7 separate regions of the Homo sapiens genome follow, and all the other regions are linked to region 2. Evidence: promoter capture Hi-C in 16 types of primary human blood cells and fetal thymus (Javierre and others, 2016). All regions are on one chromosome and are shown on one strand. The core of a region is centred on a gene start or on the middle of the fragment in contact, and the rest is flanking DNA. Distances in the headings are between cores, read along the strand shown. Region 1 holds the start of FAM151B (family with sequence similarity 151 member B). Region 2 holds the start of THBS4-AS1 (THBS4 antisense RNA 1). Region 3 overlaps ZFYVE16 (zinc finger FYVE-type containing 16). Region 4 has its middle 4.4 kb from the start of ZFYVE16. Region 5 has its middle 24 kb from the start of SPZ1. Region 6 overlaps TENT2 (terminal nucleotidyltransferase 2). Region 7 holds the start of CMYA5 (cardiomyopathy associated 5).

Evidence for each region. The method cuts DNA at HindIII sites, captures the fragments that hold promoters and counts their contacts. A CHiCAGO score of 5 or more calls a contact.
Region 1: a contact is called between the fragment with the promoter of FAM151B here and the fragment with the promoter of THBS4-AS1 in region 2, in 2 of 17 cell types (neutrophils and monocytes). The highest score is 12.3, in neutrophils.
Region 3: a contact is called between a fragment that was not itself captured here and the fragment with the promoter of THBS4-AS1 in region 2, in 1 of 17 cell types (neutrophils). The highest score is 5.5, in neutrophils.
Region 4: a fragment that was not itself captured here is called in contact with the fragment with the promoter of THBS4-AS1 in region 2 in 2 of 17 cell types (monocytes and neutrophils); the score reaches 7.2 in monocytes.
Region 5: a contact is called between a fragment that was not itself captured here and the fragment with the promoter of THBS4-AS1 in region 2, in 5 of 17 cell types (neutrophils, monocytes, M0 macrophages and 2 more). The highest score is 7.3, in neutrophils.
Region 6: a fragment that was not itself captured here is called in contact with the fragment with the promoter of THBS4-AS1 in region 2 in 2 of 17 cell types (M1 macrophages and M0 macrophages); the score reaches 5.9 in M1 macrophages.
Region 7: the fragment with the promoter of CMYA5 here is called in contact with the fragment with the promoter of THBS4-AS1 in region 2 in 10 of 17 cell types (megakaryocytes, M1 macrophages, M0 macrophages and 7 more); the score reaches 15.1 in megakaryocytes.

Annotation. Positions count from the first base shown.
Region 1 is chr5:80,486,201-80,489,553 of GRCh38, forward strand. FAM151B (family with sequence similarity 151 member B) reads left to right here and starts at 1,900. Exons shown (of 6, transcript NM_205548.3): 1 at 1,900-1,948. The coding sequence starts at 1,924. FAM151B-DT (FAM151B divergent transcript) reads right to left here and starts at 1,746. Exons shown (of 3, transcript NR_172938.1): 1 at 1,578-1,746. RefSeq lists enhancers at 1,504-2,005, 2,006-2,505 and a silencer at 2,170-2,464. The HindIII fragment of the contact is 15,498 bases long and covers 1-3,353 here.
Region 2 is chr5:80,081,967-80,085,020 of GRCh38, forward strand. THBS4-AS1 (THBS4 antisense RNA 1) reads right to left here and starts at 1,699. Exons shown (of 8, transcript NR_109930.1): 1 at 1,534-1,699; 2 at 394-571. It overlaps THBS4 (thrombospondin 4), which reads left to right. Exons shown (of 22, transcript NM_003248.6): 21 at 440-579; 22 at 1,114-1,321. The coding sequence ends at 1,175. RefSeq lists silencers at 1,008-1,097, 2,213-2,427. The HindIII fragment of the contact is 5,954 bases long and covers 1-1,715 here.
Region 3 is chr5:80,455,993-80,459,040 of GRCh38, forward strand. It overlaps ZFYVE16 (zinc finger FYVE-type containing 16), which reads left to right. Exons shown (of 19, transcript NM_001284236.3): 13 at 469-573; 14 at 953-1,100. Among named protein-coding and RNA genes, the nearest start is that of FAM151B-DT, 30 kb to the right of the region's middle. The HindIII fragment of the contact is 868 bases long and covers 851-1,718 here.
Region 4 is chr5:80,402,042-80,405,373 of GRCh38, forward strand. No RefSeq gene overlaps it. Among named protein-coding and RNA genes, the nearest start is that of ZFYVE16, 4.4 kb to the right of the region's middle. The HindIII fragment of the contact is 2,574 bases long and covers 583-3,156 here.
Region 5 is chr5:80,342,273-80,345,638 of GRCh38, forward strand. No RefSeq gene overlaps it. Among named protein-coding and RNA genes, the nearest start is that of SPZ1, 24 kb to the left of the region's middle. The HindIII fragment of the contact is 1,408 bases long and covers 1,153-2,560 here.
Region 6 is chr5:79,669,935-79,673,338 of GRCh38, forward strand. The region is part of intron 12 of TENT2 (terminal nucleotidyltransferase 2); the gene reads left to right. Among named protein-coding and RNA genes, the nearest start is that of CMYA5, 18 kb to the right of the region's middle. RefSeq lists an enhancer at 2,418-2,991. The HindIII fragment of the contact is 2,448 bases long and covers 903-3,350 here.
Region 7 is chr5:79,687,925-79,691,202 of GRCh38, forward strand. CMYA5 (cardiomyopathy associated 5) reads left to right here and starts at 1,912. Exons shown (of 13, transcript NM_153610.5): 1 at 1,912-2,132. The coding sequence starts at 1,984. It overlaps TENT2 (terminal nucleotidyltransferase 2), which reads left to right. Exons shown (of 15, transcript NM_001114394.3): 15 at 1-322. RefSeq lists an enhancer at 1,422-1,923. The HindIII fragment of the contact is 6,464 bases long and covers 1-3,278 here.

The DNA.
Region 1 (3,353 bases), core at 650-3,149, 400 kb after region 2:
GGAACAGAGTGAGACTTCATCTAAAAAAAAAGAAAAACAAGTTTTTTAAAAAAGACCTGTACTGCAATCAATGCCATCAAGAAAGTGAAAAGACAATCTGCACAACGGGAGAAAATATTGCAAATATTTGCAAATTACCTGTTAAGGGACTTGTATTGAGACTATATAAAGAATTCTCACAATTGAAATGAGCACAGGATTTGAGAAGACATTTCTCCAAAGGAAATATATAAATGACCGATAGCACCTGAAAATATGCTCAATATTATTAGTAGGGAACTACAAATCAAGATAATGAGGTAGTACTTCATATCTACTAGGATGGCTATAATTTAAAAAACATAACAACAAGTACTGACTGGTAAGGATGTGGGGAAATTGGAATCTTCATACATTGCTGGTGGGAATGAAAGATGGTACAGCTGATTTGCAAAACTGGCAGTTCCTCACACAGTTAAACAGTTACTATATGAACAAGTAGTTCCACTCCTAGGTATGTACACAGATATGCACACAGGAATGTATTCATATACGTCCACACAAAACTTGTCCATGAATGTTCACAGCAGCAGCATTCATAAAAGACAAAATGTAGAAACAACCCGAATGTCCTTCAGCTGTTGAATGGACACACATAAAATGTGGTATTTACAAACTGGAATTTATTCCAGCATAAGAAGGAAGGAAGTACTGATACATGCTAAAACATGGGTGAATTTTGAAAACATGCTAAGTGAAAGAAGCCAGTTACAAAGATCATACATACAGTCTGTGATTCTATTTACATGAAATTCCAGAATAGGCAAATTCATGAGACAGAAAGTAGATGAGTTGTTGCCTGGGGGTAGGAAGGGGGTAAATGGAGAGTGATTGCTTTGGAGTGATGAAAAATATTTTATCTGAAAGGCTGGGCAAGAATAACTCCCCTTTGTATTACGTGTCAGGTGATGTTAGTTATCCTAACTCTACCACTGGCAGATTGAGTTTTTTGGTCACAGAAGCTGAAAATGGCAGAGCTTTGTTGTTAATTCTGATCACTAGTTTGGCTTCAAAAAGTAATGAGTTAAGGAGGGCTAGAAAGACAGTGGATGGGAGGACCCAGTTGCTGAGAGCGTTTTCTGAGTGAACACTGGTAGAGAGACAGAAGGGGAGAGAAAACTTCAAGTTATCAGCTCGGTAACTTTGTACAAAAACTTATTTATTTATTTATTTATTTATTTGACAGTCTAGCTCTATCGCACAGACCGGAGCGCAGTGGAGCGATCTCGGCTCTCTGCAACCTCCACCTCTCCGGTTCAAGCCATTCTTGTGCCTCAGCCTCCCGAGTAGCTGGGATTACAGGCGCGCGCCACCACGCCAGGATAATTTTTTAAATTTTCAGTAAGGACGGGTTTTAACCATGTTGGCCAGGATGGTCTCGAATTCCTGACCTCAAGTGATCCGCCCACCTCGACCTCCCAAAGTGCTGGGAGTACAGGCCTGAGCCACCGTGCCCGGCCAGAAACACTGATTTTTATCAGTAATGATTCCACACCCTTTTAGGATATTACTAACATTTAAAAGAAAATATACCCAACTGTTGAAATTCGTGCTCCACTCCAGCAACTGCTTTCAATCGGAGTTCCATCCTCCGCCGCAGTATGCCCTAACGCAGCGTTATCTTCAGAGCTACCACCAGCTTCCGAAACCTTTCGGAGGAGCGCTTCGCCACCACCTGCACGGCGAAGCGGCGCGTAAACGAACCTCGAACGCCAGCCTTTGCGCCTGCGTGCCGCGGCTCCGTTTGGTTCCGCTTCGCTGGCGCCCGCCGGGCTCTTCCCCCGCCGAGGCCTGTGGTTTGTGGAGTCGAATTTCCCTGCCACCAGTGCCCGGTTAGCAGGGGCGCCAGCCTGGGCGCCTGCGCGGACGGCGGGCGTCGTCACCATGGCAGCATCCGCTGGAGGCCCAGGTAAGCGCCGAGCGCGCGGCCTCTGCCTGGAGGTGGGGCGCTTTGAGAGGCTCCGCCGGCCGTACCCTCCCTTTGCGGGCTCCCGCGGTCTTCCTTGCTAGGGACCTGGGAGCGCGCCGCGCAGAACCGGGCGGCTGGGCTTGGAGCCCGCTCTGCACTCGGGGCGCGCCCGCGATCGCCTGGCAAGGACCTTGGTTTGCCGGGTGGGCTCTAAGGGACAGGCGTTAGGGGAGGTCGAGAATGGCAGGGTCAGTGTCTTTTGAGGTCTGGGTTGGAAAGAAAGGAATGTGACGTTTCCCTAATCCTTAATTTCAGCCGACCGTATGGGGGCGGTCTGGGTCAGTAGGTTCCTCTTTGAAAGCTGGGGGAGGTTTGGGAATGCGGACTGGGCCGGGCCCGGCATAGTCCCGCTGCTGAGCGCGCTGCCTGGAAAGCTGGCAGAGTGTGCGGCTCGCTTGATTCCCCTTGGAATCAGGTGCTTCAACTCGCGGGACAGCAGTTCCGCTCTTGAAGGTTACAGTATCTTTTCTGTAAACTTAAGTAGTGGCATGAGACAACGTCAGTGACGCGTTCTTTCTTCAGTTTAGATTTTTTTCCCTAATTGTAAAAATAATACACGCTTTCACCATTCTGACTAGCAGGCTGTATAAATACAGGTTCTCTTCTGAATCGATGCACAGTTTACAGAATCTTGGAATAAAATGTGTGTGTAAGCGAAAAATGTCCAGGTCCTGATAAATGCCATTATAGAACATTTATAAAGTATATTAGTATAGGGAAATAGGAAAAAAAAATCCCCCAAATGCTGATACCCACAGGCACCACTACTAACTTTTTGGTATTTTCTAACAACCCTGACTCTTAAAAATAGAGTTAAGGTCATGGTAAACATAATTTTTAAAATCCTGCATCTTATACTATCCCATGTCACCAAGGTTTTTATAAACATAATTTTGAATGACTGAAGTGTTTTATACAATTATATTGTATACAATTATATTGTAATTAACCAGTCTCCTAATGTTGAACGTTAATCAGTCGTTTCCTGTTTTGTTTTGTTTTGTTAGAATTCATTCTGTAATGAACATTTTTGCATTGTTCTTCCTCAGTTATGTTTTTGGTTTGTTTTTATCCTGGACACGATTCTTGTAACTGAAATTACTGGATCAAAGGATGTGAACTTTTTTCTCTCTCTCTTTTTTAAGATCTGTGCTAAACCTCCGTAGAACATTTTTTCAGACCAGAGTTTTCCTTTTTTAACCCTTGTGCTCTTCTCAGTATAAATCCTTTTAATGCCTAGTTTTCCTAAGAATCCAAACAAATCTGGGACAAAGCTCACACTCAAGACTTACACCATTCTCACTCACAGGCTGTATAAATCCAGATTCTCTTCTGAATCGATGCA
Region 2 (3,054 bases), core at 449-2,948:
CCACCAAAAGATATAAATCAGACCAAAGGAAAAGCCAAAGTTTTTAAGCATGGTATCTAGACAAGGCAACTCACATGACAATAAGACACAAAACTTTCTCACTCAAGATAGCAGGTTTGGTTTGGTTTGATTTTTAACTCAAGTTTGATAGTGTGACCAACATCATGTTAGGCCTTGTGAGAGACAGAAGTTGGGAAGAAACACCCCCCACCCCCCTCCACACACACACGGACACACACGGTCCCTGCCCTCAAGGACTTCCAGTCTAGTAAGTAAGTGGCAACAGCTACAGTACAATCCAGGTCAGCGAAAAATGGAGCCTAAAACAGAGCAAAGAAAGACGCAGGTACGTATAAGAAGTGGGGCCCCTGGGCCTCACAGTGGGCACTTTACCCCGGGTTGGATTTCATGGAGGCCCCTCCGGCCGTGTTGTCCGCAGGGTACGATTTTATGAAGGCTCTGAGTTGGTGGCTGACTCTGGCGTCACCATAGACACCACAATGCGTGGAGGCCGACTTGGCGTTTTCTGCTTCTCTCAAGAAAACATCATCTGGTCCAACCTCAAGTATCGCTGCAATGGTAATGTGCATTCTCGTTACTGTTCAACATTGTTACTAGAATTAGTCAAACACTGCCACCTTATTTTTATACCGCACTTCCCCCCCAAAAGCCCAACGCTCATACCACATAGTCATTAAAACCTGATAGTCCCTGTGTACCAGAAGTAAAAAGCAGATCACATTTATCCTATTTTATCCATGTGGAAATTAAGACCCATAGAATTTAACTGCATGGTTTAGGGTTTGGGGTTCAGTGAGAAATCCAGTCAGATTTAATTTACAGGAAGCCTTTATTTTCATGTGGTTAAAACATAATCACAGATGCAAAATCCATTCTGCCTGCTGATTTTCTGCACGGCCGGGAAGGAGCACTCCTGGGCTTTAAGCCAACGGTTTGCAAAGCAGCCTGCAGGAGAAAATGGCGGCGAGGGCCTGCGGGGCGTCCTGGGCGGGCTAACAGCGCCCCCTACAGGACGCCTGAGCCGCGGGCGGGGGTCCGGGGTCCGGGGTGGAAGGAGCCTCGCTAACCTCCCTGTGCCCATTCCTATTGCAGACACCATCCCTGAGGACTTCCAAGAGTTTCAAACCCAGAATTTCGACCGCTTCGATAATTAAACCAAGGAAGCAATCTGTAACTGCTTTTCGGAACACTAAAACCATATATATTTTAACTTCAATTTTCTTTAGCTTTTACCAACCCAAATATATCAAAACGTTTTATGTGAATGTGGCAATAAAGGAGAAGAGATCATTTTTAAAAACCGTGTTGCTCAGACATTGCTCTCACGTGGCTCAGGCTTTGAGGTGCCCGTTCTCGGAGGGATCCCTGTTAACTTGCAGGGTGGTAGTTTCTTCTCAGACCCGGTGGCCGATAAGATGAGCCTATGCGTGAATCACAAGGCCCAGGCCAGAGGTCTCAGCTGGGGTCCCCCCAGTTTGCTCCATACAAAACGCCTAACCGTTCCATGCTCACCTTGGCAGCCTCCTTATTTCGGGTAAGGGGTCTCAGAAACACGTGTTTGGGGTGGCACCTTCCCTAGGGAGGCGTTTTTCTGACCTAGTCCTGGGACAGATTTGCCCAATTCTTTCTGATGCTGTCATCCCATCCCACACCTTCCACAGACTTCTATTCTGGCCCCTTCAACGTAATTCTTAAGCTTATTTATATATTTGGCTCCCCCTAGTGGACTGTAAGCATATTGACAATAAAGGATCATGTCATTACAATCAATATCCCCACAGTACCTGGAATGTAGTAAATAGCCAGTAAATGTTTACTGAATTAATAAACGAAGAATGAATGAATGAATGCCTCTTAAAGGACAGTAGAGTGTACATGATCATAAAAGTCCTCCTCAACTCAAAAAGTCACAACATATCCTCTATTTGTGGTACCAGTAGCTGGATGTACAGCACAGAAACTTGCCTAATTTGTACACTAGCCTTTCTTGTATTTCAATTGTAAATCAAGATCCAAGCAAATTTTTATAAATTCTCTAGAAATTTTGTTTCAAAGAATATTGCTGTGCGGTTATATATTTTCTTATTCCAGAATTCCTAGAGATATATTAAATCATGTATGAAGAAAAAAACACCACAGTTTTATCATGACTTTAACAGTGAGAAAATACAATGGTGCATGCATGAGATCTGGAGGATTTCTGGACATCCTCCTCTCATGTACAGCCTGGAGATGTGTGTGGCCTTGTAATCCAGGACATCTGATCTCCTACATCAAAAACTCCAATGGGGCCAGGTGTGGTGGCACTTGCCTGTGGTCCCAAGCACTTTGGGAGGCCAAGGCAGGCAGATCACTTGAGGCCAGGAGTTCAAGACCAGCCTGGCCAACGTGGCGAAACCCATCTCTACTAAAAATACAAAAATTAGCCAGGTGTGGTGCCACTTGCCTATAGTCCCAGCTATTTGGGAGGTTGAAGTGGGAGAATCACTTGAGCTGGGGAGGCAGAGGCTGCAGTGAGCAGAGATTGCACCACTGTACTCCAGCCTGGGCAATGAGAGTGAGGCTGGTGAAAGGAGGCAGCAACCCACACCATGCCCACCCCTGGGGCAGCCTCCCTGTTGTCGGCTGTGCAAGCCCAAGAACGCAGTATGTCCACAGGAAACAGACTCTCTTGGTTAAATCTTTTGTGTCTATAACTATTTTAGAAACCATGGGCCCACAGGAGATCCAGAACATAATTCCATCCCTTAGGGAGCTTATTACATTTTTGGGAAGACAAAACTTGTTATTTATGCAAAACAAGAAACAAAGACGCATGTAGAACCAGCAGTGTGCTGAAGCCAACTCCTACCAGCTCATAAGAGCCAACTATTCAAGTTTTAGGAATATTGTGAGCCAGTTAAACGGTTGGTAGTTTGAAATTGGCCATGGTGGGAGTATTTACACAGAAACTGGCAAACACTACAAATCAGGGCTCCAGAGAACTGGTTGTTAAATATTTATCAGCACACAAGTGATTATTCTACCTTGTCC
Region 3 (3,048 bases), core at 35-2,534, 370 kb after region 2:
TAAGTGCCTTTTGATTCATTCTCCTGCAGTTCTTGGATATTTAGGTAATGTAAGAACTCTATACAGACCTCTTAAAGTTGTTGAAACTTTTGTAAATGTATTAGTAAAGTCAGTCAGTCTTGTGATTTTGAGCAAATTATGGCCTTAGTTTTCTCATTTATAATAGGAAGTGTTGGATTAGATGATATCTAAAGTTCCCTTCCACCTATACTTTTTGTAATTTTGTGTTTCCCTGTTACCATAGAAAAATGTTTCAGTGGACTCACTTTTATTTATCCATGCCTAGTTTGAAGACCTTTTCTATTTTGGAAGTTCTGTAACTAGAAAGTTACCCTAAATACTACAAAGTTTTTCCTGAGAATGATATTCTTTATTACTGCTGTGGAGAAGGATTTCTTAAAGAAGGATTTAATGGATAGAAAAATACTCATGGTTAGTAGTTTATGGTAATGCAATTATTCTATGTAGGACCTTCGAAATTACCAGTATACCTTGCATAATATAGATCAACTGTTGATTCATATGGAAATGGGAAAAAGCTGCATAAAAATACCACGGAAAAAGTACAGTGATGTAAGTATAATTGTTTTATTCAAATGACAATTATTGAACATTAGAGTTCCCTTAGAATTGTGTCACATTAAATTTTTTGTTTTGAATTAGACTATCTAATGTATTATGGCAACAAACATTGTTTTTGAAATGATAGAATTTGTTTACTGTAAATAATCTGTTTGATCATATTTCTTTTTTTTCGTACTGTTTTATTGAGGTGATTACTGTTCAACTGAAGTGCTTTTATTTTAAAACATTTGTTTCCATCACATTCCCAGGGAGCTGTCCAGACCGAAGCTTGATAATTATGAAGCTGGCCAGAAACGTGGCTCTTAGAATAGGCATATAATATTAAAAGTGTTTCTAAATAAATGTTGTTGTTTTTGTTTTTTTCCAGGTAATGAAAGTACTAAATTCTTCCAATGAGCATGTCATTAGCATTGGAGCAAGTTTCAGTACAGAAGCAGATTCTCATCTAGTCTGTATACAGAATGATGGAATTTATGAAACACAGGCCAACAGTGCCACTGGCCATCCTAGAAAAGGTGAGCATCTTGGTTCCTAGTGCTAATTTACAAAACCACCTCAATTAATAGAATTCCTTTCAAAGGGGAAATATATGTATATTTACTTATTTGCTGAATTGTTGGTGATAAAACAATATGTTTTGAAATTTCAGCTACACAACAGATTTTAAAATTGCTTCTAATTTTTGTTTTTCTCTTGGGCTACTTTAGGCTTACAGACTTGGAAGACTGTTTTCCTTTTGACATCTTTAGGTTTAGTATATCCCGTAGGGTGAGAGTCTTTCTTTGAGTAATTTCTTTCTGAAATAAGGTATTTCTTTTCACATTTGTTCACCCTCTGCTCCAACTCCTCTTAGTTGGTGGAGCACAGGGTGATAAGGATAAGATTGATTTATAAAACGTAACAAACAGCATCTATGAATGACATTACTCTCAGCTCTGGCTGAATGGCTTCAGTGATTGCTATGATTACCAAACCCTTGCAGTAGAAGGCCTAACAAATTGAAAGTTAAATGGAAGCATTTCATAAAATTAATATATTATTATAGGATACCATACTTAAAATAGTCCAACATTCTGGCTGCCAATAAAATTTTTTCCTCTGCTTATAAAAGTAATATATACTTATTTGTAGTAAGCTTGGAAAATACATTTTGAAAAGTAGTAAAAGAGGCCAGGCACAGTGGCTCACGCCTGTAATCCCAGAACTTTGGGAGGCTGAGGTGAGCGGATCACAAGGTCAAGAATTGAGACCATACTGGCTAATATGGTGAAACCCCGTCTCTATTAAAAATACAAAAAATTAGCCGGGTGTGGTGGCGGGCGCCTGTAGTCCCAGCTACTTGGGAGGCTGAGGCGGGAGAATGGCGTGAACCCGGGAGGCGGAGCTTGCAGTGAGCCCAGATCGTGCCACTGCACTCCCGCCTGAGCGACAGAGAAACAGAGCGAGACTACGTCTAAAAAAAAAAAAAAAAAAAAAGGTGGTAAAAGGGAAAAGTGCCAAGATATGGTCACTATTGACATTTTACTGTATTTCCTTCTTATATTAATGTATATGTTAAATAGATGATTTTATACTGGATATTTACACTTTTATATTATACTTTATCACTTAACATGATATTGGCATTTTTGCCACTAAAATTTAACAATTTTTAATATTTATTTGTTGAATAGGTATATTTTTATGTGGTAAAATTAAAAAGTTATTAATATTTATAGTGAAAAATCTCCTTTCCTCCCTTGACCACCCAGCCATCCTCTTACTCTCCCTACAGGCAACCAAACCAATGTTATCAGTTCTTATATATCCTTTCAGAGACATTTTTGCTTTAATATATATTCAAGAAACACACACACATATCTACCTCTTTCTTCCACTTTTATAGACAAGTCATAATATTTGCTCCATTCTATACCTTGTTTTTTTTGTTGTTGTTAACACACTTTGGAGATTATTCTATGTTTGTGTATAAGGAGCTTTTATATTCTACAGAACTTTACATTTTATATGTTGTACATCATTTAACTGTCCCTTATTGATGGGCATAATTTGTTACCAATCCTTAGGGGCTGTTTATAAAAATGCTACAGTGAATAGTTTTGTATACATGCCGTTTTGTACACATTTGAACCTATCTGTAAGATAAATTCCCAAAAGTGGAATTGGTGTGTCATAGGATACATTTACTTGTAATTTTAATAGAAAAATGCCAAGTTAGGGCTCCATAAAAACTGTTCTGATTTGTGGTGTCACCAGTAGTGAATGTTTGATTTCCTACACCCTCACTAATATAGGCACAAACATTTAAAACAGTACAATACTCCATCAATTATTAATAAAAACATTAAATTATTTTATTATTTACTTATTTGAGACAGAATCTCGCTCTGTCGCCCAGGCTGGAGTGCAGTGGCGCGATCTTGGCTCACTGGAACCTCCACCTCCTGAGTTCCAGCAATTCTG
Region 4 (3,332 bases), core at 620-3,119, 320 kb after region 2:
ATTTCAATCAACAAAGGAATTCATGGAAAATTTAATTGACCAAGAATCTACACAAAGATCTTGTAACTTTATCACCTGCCATCAGTCTCTCAAATATCTGTTAGTAAATAAAAGAATGATACAGTGGATTGTGAACTTCTTCATGGCAAAAAACATGAATTATTCACCTTTCTTCCAACTCCTAGCATAATGCACTGCACAGCAGAAGAAACACCCATAAACAAATAAAGGTAATACAGAGTTCAATTTCATTTGTGTGTGAAAGGCATTTGAGTTTTTAGTAGCTTGTTGATTTTCCTTATTACTCAGTTCCAAAGCCAAAAACTAAGCCACATTTCTTGTATTTAGTGTTATAAAGTAACATGAATCTACAAAGTAACATAACTACATGTTACAAAATAACATGAAACCACTAGCTAACATAGCTACAATTGTTGAATCTGTTAACAAAATAATATAATCAATGTATTATAAAATAACAATTGGTTTTAAAAAATAATTTAAGGTTCATGCCATACTGACCATTTCTTTTTGCTTATTGAATATATGTGTAGAGAGGGGTTGGACCAGGTTAATTGAATAAGCTTTCATTTATTATAATGGTTAAGGAAATCACCTTAATATAATAAAACACAATTTAATTCTAAAAATTCATGTAACTTTATCTCTATTTTCTTTGTCAATTCAAAAGCACTGCAAGATCTTGCAATGACTGCAAGATCAATAGGAAAAACAATGCAATTATGTTTAATAAACTGTCTGGGCTTGGTGGCTCACTCTTCTAATCCCAGCACTTCAGGAGGCCAAGGTCGGTGGATGGCTTGAGCCCAGGAGTTCCAGACCAGCCATGGGCAACATGGCGAAATCCTGCCTCTACAAAAAATACAAAAGTTAGCCAGGTGCAGTAGCATGCGCCTATAGTCCCAGGTATTTGGGAGACTAAGGCAGGAGAAACACTTGAGCCACAGAGGTTGAGGCGGCAGTGAGCCGAGATCGAGCCATTACACTCCAGTCTAGGCAATGGGAGTGAAACCCTGTACCAAACAAAACAAAACAACAAAAAAAAAATGAATAAGTGTTTGTTGAATTAAACACCAGTTATTCCTCTTTTTTACTGTTGATATAGAAAGCTCATAAGATTTATTATGTTTATCAACAAATCATTGCTATGTCATTAATTTATTGTTTGTCATATATTTCTAAAGAACTCAGAAAAAATATTGGTTATTTGAGCTTTTTGACTTTATAACTTTAAGTAAATACAGTTGCTGTATTAAATACAAGGATCTACAGCGATTATCTGAGCACCACAACTAAAACTTTCCTTAGAGAATTGAAAAGCCTCTCTCACAAGAACCAATACTAAATTATAGCACTTTGTACAAAAGGAGAATGGGCTGTTGAGAGTGTGTTCTTCAGTTTGCTGTTTTGATAAAGGCCTTGACCAGTAAGTGTTGCTGTACTTAACAAAGTAGTTATAACAGCCTGTACTTAACAAAGTAGTTATAACAGCAGGGAGAAATCCTGAACTTCAGGTTTTGTTTATGGATGAGCAACAATGTTCATACTGCGAGAACACCTGGTTTACTTATAAGATAAAGGCTGAAAACAGTAGGTGATCAATAAATGACAGCTATTTATAAAGTGGTTCTTAGTAATAAGTGATGATACGTGTGTCTGGTGCAACTGAACAATAGGAATGGAGCATTTTTCTGTGCCAGAGTACAACTGACCAGCTGTCTGCTCCATAAAACTGGTCATTGTAGATTTTTTATCTCTAATCTAGTTAACTTTGGGTACTACTTGGTACAAAGTTTAATTTTCATTGGTATAGGGCCTTATGTAGAAGTTCAAAACCCAGTTCTGAATTTCTGAACTCACATTTGTGCCGCTGTGGTCATCAGAAAAAAAAAAAAAAAAGGAACTGTTTACTAGGAATTGGAAGAAATATACTAGCTTTAAACCACTCACTGGCTAAATCAGGGTTTCTCAACCTTGGCACTGTTGATATTTTAGGCTGAAAACTTCTTTGTTGTTGGGGGTTCTCCTGTGAATTGCAAGACAGTTAGCGGCATCCCTGGCCTGTATCTATTAGATATCAGTAGCATTCTTTCAGTGGTGACAACCAAAAATGCCTCCAGAGATTGTCAAACGTCCTCTGGGAGGCAAAATCACCCCTCACCTCCACAGAGAACTATTGGGCTAAAGTAGTAGTCATTGATTTGAACTTTGGTTTGTTGGTTGATTTCATCTATTTTTACTACTTTATAGATCAGAAGTTTTGTGGAACCCAAATTAAATACTCTTTCAAAGCATAATTAGGAAAGGTTATTATAATTCTAAACATCTACTAAAAGTATTGCAATTGCTTTGTTAGCAGATTAAATTTTTAGTAGACATTTGGCATTAAAAGGTAATCAAAGGCTACAAATTTTATATGAACAAACTTATTAATTCTCCTTAAAAAACAAAAACAGAAACAAAAACAGAGCAAACGAGTCTTCATATAGTGACAAACATGTGGAGTGGTCATCAAGTCCCTGTATCTTATTCTCAGTTTAGTAGACTAAGAAATTCAGTTTTAAAATGTATTTGCAAGTAATTGTGCTCCAGGGAACTTATACTTGCATTAGCCAAATTCATAGGCTACTGATATAACAACATGGATGTAACTGATCAATTTATAAAAAGAAATATAACCATCAAGAATAGCAATTGTTAGGCTGGCACAGTGGCTAATGTCTGTAATCCCAGCACTTTGGGAGGTTGACTACCTGATTACCTGAATTTGAATTCTAATTGGGAGGATTGCTTGGGCCCAGAAGTTTGAGACCAGTATAGGCAACATAGTGAAACCTTGTCTTTAAAAAAATAAAAATAAAAATTATCTGGGCATGGTGATGCACGCCTGTGGTCCCAGCTACTCTGGAGGCTGAGGTAGGAGGATCACTTGGGCCCCAGGAGTTGGGGCTGCAGTGAGCCATGATCCAACCACTGCATTTCAGCCTGAGTGATATAGTAAGATCCTGTCAAAAAAAGAAAAAAAAAAGAATAACAGTTATTCATCATTTACAGTCAGTGCTTCAGTTAAGTACTTTATGTGGATTATCTCAATCAATGTATTAGTTCTATTAGCATTTGACTACAGGAGCATCAAGCTTAGAAAATTTAGGCCACACAACTAATAGGTTATAGAATTAGAATTCAAATTCAGGTAATCAGACTCTAAAGACCATACTTGAAATGACAGGGGAAATGGATTCTTAGGTTTCCTGGTCAACTTATCACACTTGTTACATTAGAGGTTTTTTTCTTTTTCCCCAGAATATAAA
Region 5 (3,366 bases), core at 607-3,106, 260 kb after region 2:
AAAAAGGGCGAGGGTGAGCATGGTGGCTCACGCCTGTAATCCCAGCACTTTGGGAGGCCAAGGTGGGCGGATCGCCTGAGATCAGGAGTTCGAGACCAGCCTGGCCAACACGGTGAAACCGTGTCTTTACTAAAAATACAAAAATTAACGGGCATGGTGGCAGGCACCTGTAATCCCAGCTACTCAGGAGGCTGAGGCAGGAGAACCACTTGAACCTAGGAAGCGGAGGTTGCAGTGAGCCAAGATCATGCCACTGCACTCCAGCCTGGGTGACAGGGTTGAGACTCTGTCTCAAAAAAAAAAAGAAAGAAAAAAAAAGATTGAGACTTCCTAAGTTCAGGTAAGTTCAGGGTTCCTTAGCTATGAGACAAACCCACAGACTGTGCAGCATCTACCTGAGCCCAACTTTCTGTCGCCACTGTGGAGTCTTGGTGGTAAATGCACAGATGCAAACATGAGGCTCATGCTTCCTCTTCTGTGAATAACAAAGCCCTTTGTTTGCTTGCTTTGTTTTTGTTGTTTTTTAAGAGGGAGTCTTGCTCCCGTTACACAGGCTGGAGTGCAGTGGTATGACCTTGGCTCACTGCAACCTCCACCTCCTGGGTTCAAGTGATTCTCCTTCCTCAGCCTCCTGAGTAGCTGAGATTACAGGCGTGTACCAACACGCCCGGCTAATTTTTGTATTTTTAGTAGAGATGGGGTTTCGCCATGTTGGCCAGGCTGGTCTCGAACTCCTGACCTCAGGTGATCCGCCCGCCTCGGCCTCCCAAAATGCTGGGACTACAGGCGTGAGCCACTGTGCCTGGCCCGCTGTTTGTTTTTGACTCAAGAGTCTCATGTCTTCTGGCAGAGCTTATAAAATTGTGTCAGGTTAATTAGTTAACTTAAAACTAAGGTAAAATCTCAGGCCATTCGTAGCTCTTGACATTGTCCAGCAACCAGCTGAATATGTGATCCTGAGATCAGAAGCAGAGCCTGGCCTAAGGATATGACTTTGTGAGTCATCAACATGTAAGTGGTCATTAAACCATGGTAGTGGACGCAATCATTTAGACTAGTGTGACATCATGAAAGGAGAATTCAGAGAGCTTTGAGGACCTCCAAAATGAAATAATCTGATAAAAGTGGAAGAGTTCAAGGGAGACTTGAAGAAGCTTCCAGGTGAATCAAAGAGAGAGACTGTTTCAAGGAGGAATGAGTGGTCAGGTTTATCAAATGCTGAGAGACCACATAAGATGAGAACGGAAAATATCCACTGAATTTAGAAGTTGGAGGTCATTGTGACATTACCAAGAGCAGTTAAAAGCAGTTTAATGGAGTAACTGGCTGAAATCCTAACTGGATGACAGCTTTGGTCAAGGTGGGGAAATACAGGCAGTAAATGAGGTCTTTCCTAAGAAGAGAAAGAGAAAGAATGGGGAGTTAAGGAATTGTCTTTTTTAAAAAAAAAAAAACAACAGAAATTTGGCCAGGCATGGTGGCTAACGCCTGTAATCCCAGCACTTTGGGAGGCCGAGGCAGGTGGATCACCTGAGGTCAGGAGTTCAACACCAGCCTGGCCAACATGGCGAAACCCTGCCTCTGCTGAAAATACAAAAATTAGCTGGGCCTAGTGGTGGATGCCTGTAATCCCAGCTACTCAGGAGGCTGAGGTGGGAGAATTGCTTGAACCTGGGAGGCGGAGGTTGCAGTGAGCCGAGATCACGCCATTGTACTCCAGCCTGGGCAACAGAGCGAGACTCCGTCAAAAAAAACAAAACAGAAATTTATTTTCGCACAATTCTGGAGGCCAGACACCTGAGATCAAGGTGTTATCAGGGTTAGTTTCTTCAGAGGCTTCCCTCCTAGTCTTGTAGATAGCCATCTTCTTTTTCTGTCTTAACATGGTCAAAGGAAGGGTCTTTGCTTTCAGCTTTATGGGCAAAGTTACACAAATGACAATGTGATCACCACCAGTGTTTTTAGGAGTGACTGAATATCCTTTCTCTACTTTCAAAACTTGTTGATCTAAAGACAGTCCTTTTTCTGGATCTGAATAGCCACAGAGCCCACTGAGTCTATATATACAAAATTTAATAGAGTTATTCTTTTTTTGTTTTGTACTTTTTAGAGATGGGGGTCTCACTATGTTGCCTAGGCTGAAGTGCAGTGTTTATTCACAGGTGCGGTCATAGCTTGCTGCAGCCTTAAACTCCTGGCCTCAGGCACTCCTCCCTCAGCCTCCAGAGTAGCTGGGACTACAGGCGTGCACCACTGCACCTGGCATAATAGTGTTATTCTTATTCCAAGAGATGTTTCAATGTCTCCAGTTTCAAATATAGAGGCAACAAGAAAAGCTCAGAAAGGAACTCAATAGGGATATAGGCCATCAACAAAACTGCAAAAACAGATTAAAAGGATGAAAATTCCATTTTGGAAAAAAGCATATGAGGAAACTTACTGTCATCAAGCTAACAAAGGCCAGAGAGCTTGTTTAGGAGCCCTTGACCTTAAAAGGACACTGGATAGAAATGGTCATAAAGAGAGAGAAAACGCCACAGAGAGAATAAAGTCCTACATAAGCTTAGTCCCTTTGTAAACTGGAACCACTGCAAGCACCCTGTAAGACCTTAATGGGGAAGCAGACACATAAAGAGTCCCTTTTTCCATTTAGTGCATACTTTTCTTTAACTGTTTAACTGTCATTGTGTGTGTGTCTGTGTGTGTACACCTGTAATCTCCACAACTTGGGAGGCTGAAGTGGGCAGATCACTTAAGGTCAGGTGTTCAAGACCAGCCTGGCCAACATGGTGAAACCCCGTCTCTACTAAAAATACAATTGGCAGGGTGCGGTGGCTCACACCTGTAATGCCAGCATTTTGGGAGGCCGAGGCAGGCAGATCACCTGAGGTCAGGGGTTTGAAACCAGCTTGGCCAACTTGGTGAAACCCTGTCTATACTAAAAATACAAAATCAGCCGGGTGTGGTGGCGGGCACCTATAACCCCAGCTACTCAGGAGGCTGAGCCAGGACAATGGCTTGAACCCGGGAGGCGGAGGTTGCAGTGAGCCCAGATTGCACAATTGCACTCCAGCCTGGGTCACAGAGCAAGACTTCGTCAAAAAACAAACAAACAAACAAAAAACTAGATTAAACAGTAGACAGGGAAAAAACACATCTTGTGCCCATTACAGTCTACTTTTGATCTGAAGAAATAAATTTAAGATTTACTGATCACCACACTCCAGGAAGAGAAAATACTAATCAAGGTAGTTGAGAATGCTTATACAGAGAGCAAGCAGTATTCCTACTCTATTCCGTTTTTCTTTATTGAGAAATTTAAAACCATATTTAGTGGCTTGTTGCAGTGGCCTGTAATCCCAGAAC
Region 6 (3,404 bases), core at 877-3,376, 410 kb before region 2:
AGTAGTATTTCAGGCCGGGCGCGGTAGCTCATGCCTGTAATCCCAACACTTTGGGAGGCCGAGGCAGGTGAGGTCGCGAGTTCGAGACCAGCCAGACCAACACGGAGAAACCCCTTCTCTACTAAAAATACAAAATTAGCTGGGCATGGTGGTGCATGCCTATAATCCCAGCTACTTGGGAGGCTGAGACAGGAGAAACGCTTGAACCTGGGAGGTGGGGGTTGCAGTAAGCTGAGATTGTGCCATTGCACTCCAGCCTGGGCAACAAGAGCGAAACTCTATCTCAAAAAAAAAAAAAGAAAAAAGGATTTCAGATAGCTTTGACACAGAATTCACACTTAACTGTCATACTGGAGAAGTATAAAAAGGTAAGAGCTTTTATTTATTTATTTATTTATTTATTTTTTTGAGACGGAGTCTCACTGTGTTGCCCAGGCTGGAGTGCAGTGGCGTGATCTCGGCTCACTGCAACCTCTGCCTCCCTGGTTCAAGCAATTCTCCTGCCTCAGCCTCCCAAGTTGCTGGGACTACAAGCACCCGTGACCACGCCTGGCTAATTTTTGTATTTTTAGTAGAGATGGGGTTTCATCATATGGGCCAGGCTGGTCTCAAACTCTTGACCTAGTGATCTGCCCGCCTCAGCCTCCCAAAGTGCTGGGATTACAGGTGTGAGCCACCGTGCTCGGCCACGGAGCTTTCATTTATATTAAGATGAAGAAAGATTAAAGACTGGATGAGACATAGTACATAAATAGACTGTGAAGGTTTAATGGTTATTCTAGAGTTCTCTTTAAGATATTGCAATAACAATAGCTAATGTTTAGTGAGAATTTATCTAGTGTGCTGTAGTAAGCTGAGTGATTCCCATGGATTTCAGTTAATCCTCATAATAACCTCTGTCAAGCTTAGGGAATTTGTGTACATGAAACTTGCCCATGGCAATCTACAGCTAGATTGTGGGAGAGTTGGGATTCACTTTCAAGCTGGACTCCAAAACTACATTCTTAATTGTTAGACTGTATTGACATTGTTTATTATGTTATATAAATTAGGGACTGGGGGATGTTTGTGGAGGGGGAAAAGGATTCACAGAACAAAGATAACTTTTTTCCCATGTATAGTGTAGGATTAGAGCATCTGTATACAAATACCTTGAAAATCACCTGCTTTGTTGAACAGAAACAAGATAGTGGATGTGTAGGTTTGTATGTTAATTTAATATTAAAGGAAACTAGTCTGCTGGGTCAGATGATACTGATGCTTGGAAAGAGGTTTCAGAACTTCACCATCTAGTACATTTGTCATTTCATATGAGATATTTTCAGAAATTTGAAATGTGGGGATCACAGCCAAGAATGTAGTCATGGTAATAAACTAGAAGCTGTATAAAAGAATTATGGCAATTGTTAAAAATGTCTATAAGGATTTCTTCTGAACTTTGAGGTAATCATTTAAAAAGTTCTTTTTTCTTTTTCTTTTTTTTTTTTTGAAACAGAACCTTGCTCTGTTGCCCAGGCTGGAGTGCAGTGGTGCGATCTTAGCTCACTGCAACCTCCGCCTCATGGGTTCAAGCAATTCTCCTGCCTCAGCCTCCTGAGTAGCTGGGATTCCAGGTGCGTGCCACCATGCCTGGCTAATATTTTTTTGTATTTTTAGTAGAGATGGGGTTTCACCATATTGGCCAGGTTGGTCTTGAACTCCTGACCTCAAATGATCCACCCATCTCGGCCTCCAAAAGTGCTAGGATTACAGGTGTGAGCCACCGCGCCTAGCCAAAAGTTCTTTTTTCTGAAAGACAAAACATTAAGTGACTGTTAAGGGATGCTTGAGTATATGGTATAAATGTTGCAGAAGTTTTATATGGTCATTTAAAAATTACTATTTTCGGCCGGGTGTGGTGGCTCATGTCTGTAATCCCAGCACTTTGAGAGGCCATGGAGGGGAGATCACTTGAGCCCAGAAGTTTGAGACCAGCCTGGGCAACATGGCAAAACCCCCTTTCTACTAAAAATACAAAAATTAGCCAGGTGTGGTGGCACATGCCTGTAAACCCAGCTACTTGGGAGGCTGAGGCACAGGAATTGCTTGAACCAGGGAGGTGGGGGTTGCAGTGAGCTGAGATTGCTCCACTGCACTCCAGCCTGGACAATAGAGTGAGACCCTGTCTCAAAAAAAAAAACAAAAAACTATTTTTCTTACCTACTTCACTCACACCTTGCTGCTGAAATACTTCTGTTTTGTTACTTTTTGTGGGTACATAATAGGTTTGTATATTTATAGGGTATGTGAGATATTTTGATATAGGCATACAGTGCATAATAATCACATCAGGGTAAATGGGGTATCCATCACCTCAAGCATTTATCGTTTGCATTACAAACAATCCAGTTATCCTGTTTTAGTTATTTTTAAATGTACAATTAAATTATTATTGACTATAGTCACCCAGTTGTGTTATCAAATATATATCTTATTCGTTCTATTTTCTTGTACTCATTAACAATCCCCACTTCCGCCTCTCCCTGCCACTGCCCTTCCCAGCCTCTGGTAACCATCATTCTAGTCTCTTATCTCCATGAGTTCAATTGTTTTAATTTTTAGATCCCACAGATAACTGAGAACATGTGAAGTTTGTCTTTGTGTGTCTGGCTTATTTCACTTAATGTCCTCCAATTCCATCCATGATGTTGCAAATGAGAGGATCTCATTCTTTTGTATGGCTCAATAGTACTCTATTGTGGATAAGTACCACCTATTATTTATCCATTCCTCTGTTGATGGACACTTAAGTTCCTTCTAAATTTTGGCTATTGGGAATAGTGTTACAAAAACATGAGAGTGCAGATATGTCTTCAGTATCCTGATTTTCTTTCATTTGGGTATATGCCTAGGAGTGGGATTGCTGGATCATATGGTAGTTCTACTTTTAGTTTTGGGGAAACCTCCAAACTGTTCTTCATAATGGTTGTACTAATTTACATTCCCACCAGCAGGGTATGAGGGTTTCCTTGCCAGCATTCATTGTTGCCTGTCTTTTGGATAAAAGCCATTTTAAGTGGGGTGAGATGATACCTCATTGCAGTTTTGATTTGCCTAAGTCTGATGATTAGTGATGTTGAGCAGCTTTGCATATACCTCGTTGCTCTTTGTATGCCTTCTTTTGAGAAATGTCTGTTGAGATCTTCTGTCCGTGTTTTAATTGGATTATTAGATTTTTTCCTATAGAGTTGTTTAAGCTCCTTATATATTCTGCCTATTAATCCTTTGTGAGATGAGTAGTTTGCAAATATTTTCTCTCATTCTATGGGTTTGTCTCCTCACTTTGTTGATTGTTTCCTTTGCTATGCAGAAGCTTTTTAACTTGATGTGATCCCATTGTCCATTTGCTTTGGTTGCCTGTGCTT
Region 7 (3,278 bases), core at 662-3,161, 390 kb before region 2:
GAATTCCTTTTGTACTGGATGAGCATGGTCATTTGGGATTACTGATGGTGAAGTCTAGCTGGTGTTAAGAGAATAAATATTGCTGATGCTAAACCTGGTTTAGTGAGCTGTGGAAGCCTTGACTCTGCTGTTTTCCCTCCTTATGCCCCACTAGCTGATGTATCTGTACTGTAATTCAATGATTTACAGTTCATTACCTCCAGACATAATGCATGCATACCAGCTCGTGTAACTGGTGAATAATCCCCAGCTTACAGTCATATTTAACAACTCTGTGACTTGCTATAATTAAAAATAAATGTTAACTCTTCTAGCCATCAAATCATTCTCATGAAATGAATATCTTTATTGTAAAGTTACCTCCATTTGTACATAGCAGTTCTGGTTCTGTTCTCTTCAGGGAGCATCCATTATATGTACCTGCTATGTGCTAGCTACTTTGCTAGTGTGTAGGCTTGTAAGAGATGGGGATGATGGGACAAAGAAGAGTAGTAAACTTACGAAGTCTGCTGGGGAAGGAGATACAAACATAATTTGAATATAGGATTATGTGGGAACCTGGAAGAGAGGTACTGAGTTTAACTTTGGGATTTCAGTGAAAGGTGGTGATCTTGAATGATGGGTATCCTGGTAAAAATGGGACCAACCTTTGAGGCAGAAGGAATTGTGTTAATAAAGACACAGTGGAGTGACTTGACAATGTTGGGAACTCCTGACTTCTAAAGACACCTGACCAGCTGGGCGTGGGGGCTCACACCTGTAATTCCAGAACTTTGGGAGGCTGAGGTGGGCAGATCACCTGAGGTCAGGAGTTCGAGACTAGGCTAGCCAATATGGTGAAACCCCGTCTCTACTAAAAATACAAAAATTAGCTGGGCATGGTGGTGCGCGCCTGTAGTCCCAGCTACTCGGGAGGCTGAGGCAGGAGAATCGCGTGAACCCAGGAGGTGGAAGTTGCACTGGACCGAGATCGCGCCATTGCACTCCAGTCTGGGCGACAAGAGCAAGACTCCATCTCAAAAAAAAAAAAAGAGTAGACAGGTAAAACATGGCCTGTTAGGCAACCGTTACCTTTGTGAGGGTGTTGGGGTTCAGTCTTTGAGCAGTGGGAAGCCATTGAGGGGTTTTAACCACAACTTGATCCGGGGAAAGGTTTGGGGCATTTGGGCCAGTTTCAGACAAAACTTAGCTTTTTGCTAACGTGGGGGAAATTGCTCCTCCTCAAGGTTTAAGATGAGTGGAGATAAAGTTTCCTGGCTCAATAACAGGGACCACTGAGCAAGAAAATACACAGTATATTGACTTGCGATATAAAGAGAGCCGGGACGGAACACTGGTTCAAAACTGGGCTTTTGAGCAGGGCACGCCTAGCTTTGTTTCTCATTGGGTCATTTTACTAGCAATGACAGCCTGAGCTGCTGGAGCTCTTCGGAGTCTCAGTTTCCTCATCTGGGAAACCAGCACTACAGTAAAACCTTCTACAGGTACCACCACAGAATCGAGGTAATGAAAGCGAGACCCTTAGCAGAGTGCCTGGTAGTTAAGTGCCCAGCTCAGGGTATTGTTTGGGATAAAGGGTCCAGAAAGTAGCTCAGCTCAAAACCGAAAAGACTCACTCTGGAGGAAATAAGAGACGGGGCTAGGTTGCCTTTCCTCCTTTGAACCCCCTGGTGCAGCCGGAGCCCGCGCCCCTTAAAGTGATCTCCAGTTGTCCGAAAGGCCCGCCAGGGATCTGGCGAAACGGGGGCGGGGGAGGGCTCAGGGAAGAGGAGAAGCTGAGCCCGGGCCCCAGAAGCTCGGTGGCGAAACTTTGACGCCTTCTATTTAAAGTCGCGGGGCTCGCCCGCCCCCGGCGCCGGGAACCCGAGCCGCCCCCGCAGGGGCAGGGCTGGGGAGGGCAGGGGCCAGAGCAGTCGGAGGGAGAACACCAGGCGCGGCGCGGGCGGCTCCGGCTCCGGCCCCGGCCCAGGCCCGGGAGAGGCGATGGCGAGCCGCGATAGCAACCACGCTGGCGAGAGCTTTCTCGGCTCCGACGGGGACGAGGAGGCGACCCGGGAGCTGGAGACCGAGGAGGAGTCGGAGGGCGAGGAGGACGAGACGGCGGCGGAGTCGGAGGAGGAGCCGGACTCCAGGTAGCGCGAGCCTCTCTCCTCGGCCCAGGGCCTGCAGGGCAGCTAGCAGCACCCTTGCTTGTTTGCTTTAAGTTTTTAAGCTCTGGGGTTCGTTTGCCTCGAGCTAGGCACTTTCTCTCTGGGTGCACTGTCGTTTAAAAGAACTTGAAGGTGAAGGTGCTCGCTGTCAGCTGGAGTGACAGGCCCGCCTGCAGCAGAGTTCATTACCCCCGCCCCCAGCTCCTTGTGACTCGCTGCTCTTGTTTATTCCTGAGGATTTACTTAGGTCCTGCATAACTGCCGAAATGTGCTGGAACACGTACATCTGGCCCGAGGCACAGGAACAATCGCGAAATCCTGCGCTAGAGGAGAAGGGGGTGGGGTGGAGGCGGTGAAGGCGCACTGGTACCTTCCGATGAATGGCGGTCTCCCCGGGGGCCTAGCAGTAGGCTAGGCTGCAATAAGGTGACCTTATTTTGATACAAAGGCCCATAAATTCTTTGGGGGAAAAGAAGCATGAGTTTCAGTAATCCCTGTTCTTCAAGTCCTGGTCCCAAATCCCAAATATCAGTTTCCGTGAATGCGATGAAGTAATACTATGTACAAAAGATGCACCTCCCACCCTTCGATCTCCCACCCTCCGTCCCTTTAAGAAGGCCCTAAAATGAGAATAATAGAAATCATCTAATGTCTATTTGGATTAGCTTCTACCTTCACTTGTTTTCCTTGAGTATGAGTTTTGGGTTTTTTCCTGACTGTGTGTCAGTCAGTGATGTCTCTTCCTCAGTCTGTTCATAACAGTAGAAAGGCTTTGAAGGTGGCAGGTGGGTGTGTACCATCTCAGAACGCCCAGCTTACCTAATCAAAGCCAGCAGAGCCGATGTTGAAGAAGTAGCCCATAGAGGGGCATTGAGGAGGATGGATGGTCAGACAAGAAGTCCTGAATGTATGTCACCTGTTTATCAAACAGCTGCCAAGTGGGAAGCAAGCACAGTCCCTGGCCTCAAGGACCTTGTGGAAAAAGTTTCCCTAACTTTTTCCCCTATGGGGAAACGTTTCCCTAACATGGGGAGTGTGAGACTATATAGAGGTGGAAGGGAGGACTATGGGTACTGTGCAAGGGCAGAAGAGGGAGTGTTGGGCTGGAGCTGCCTTGAAGTAGTGGGC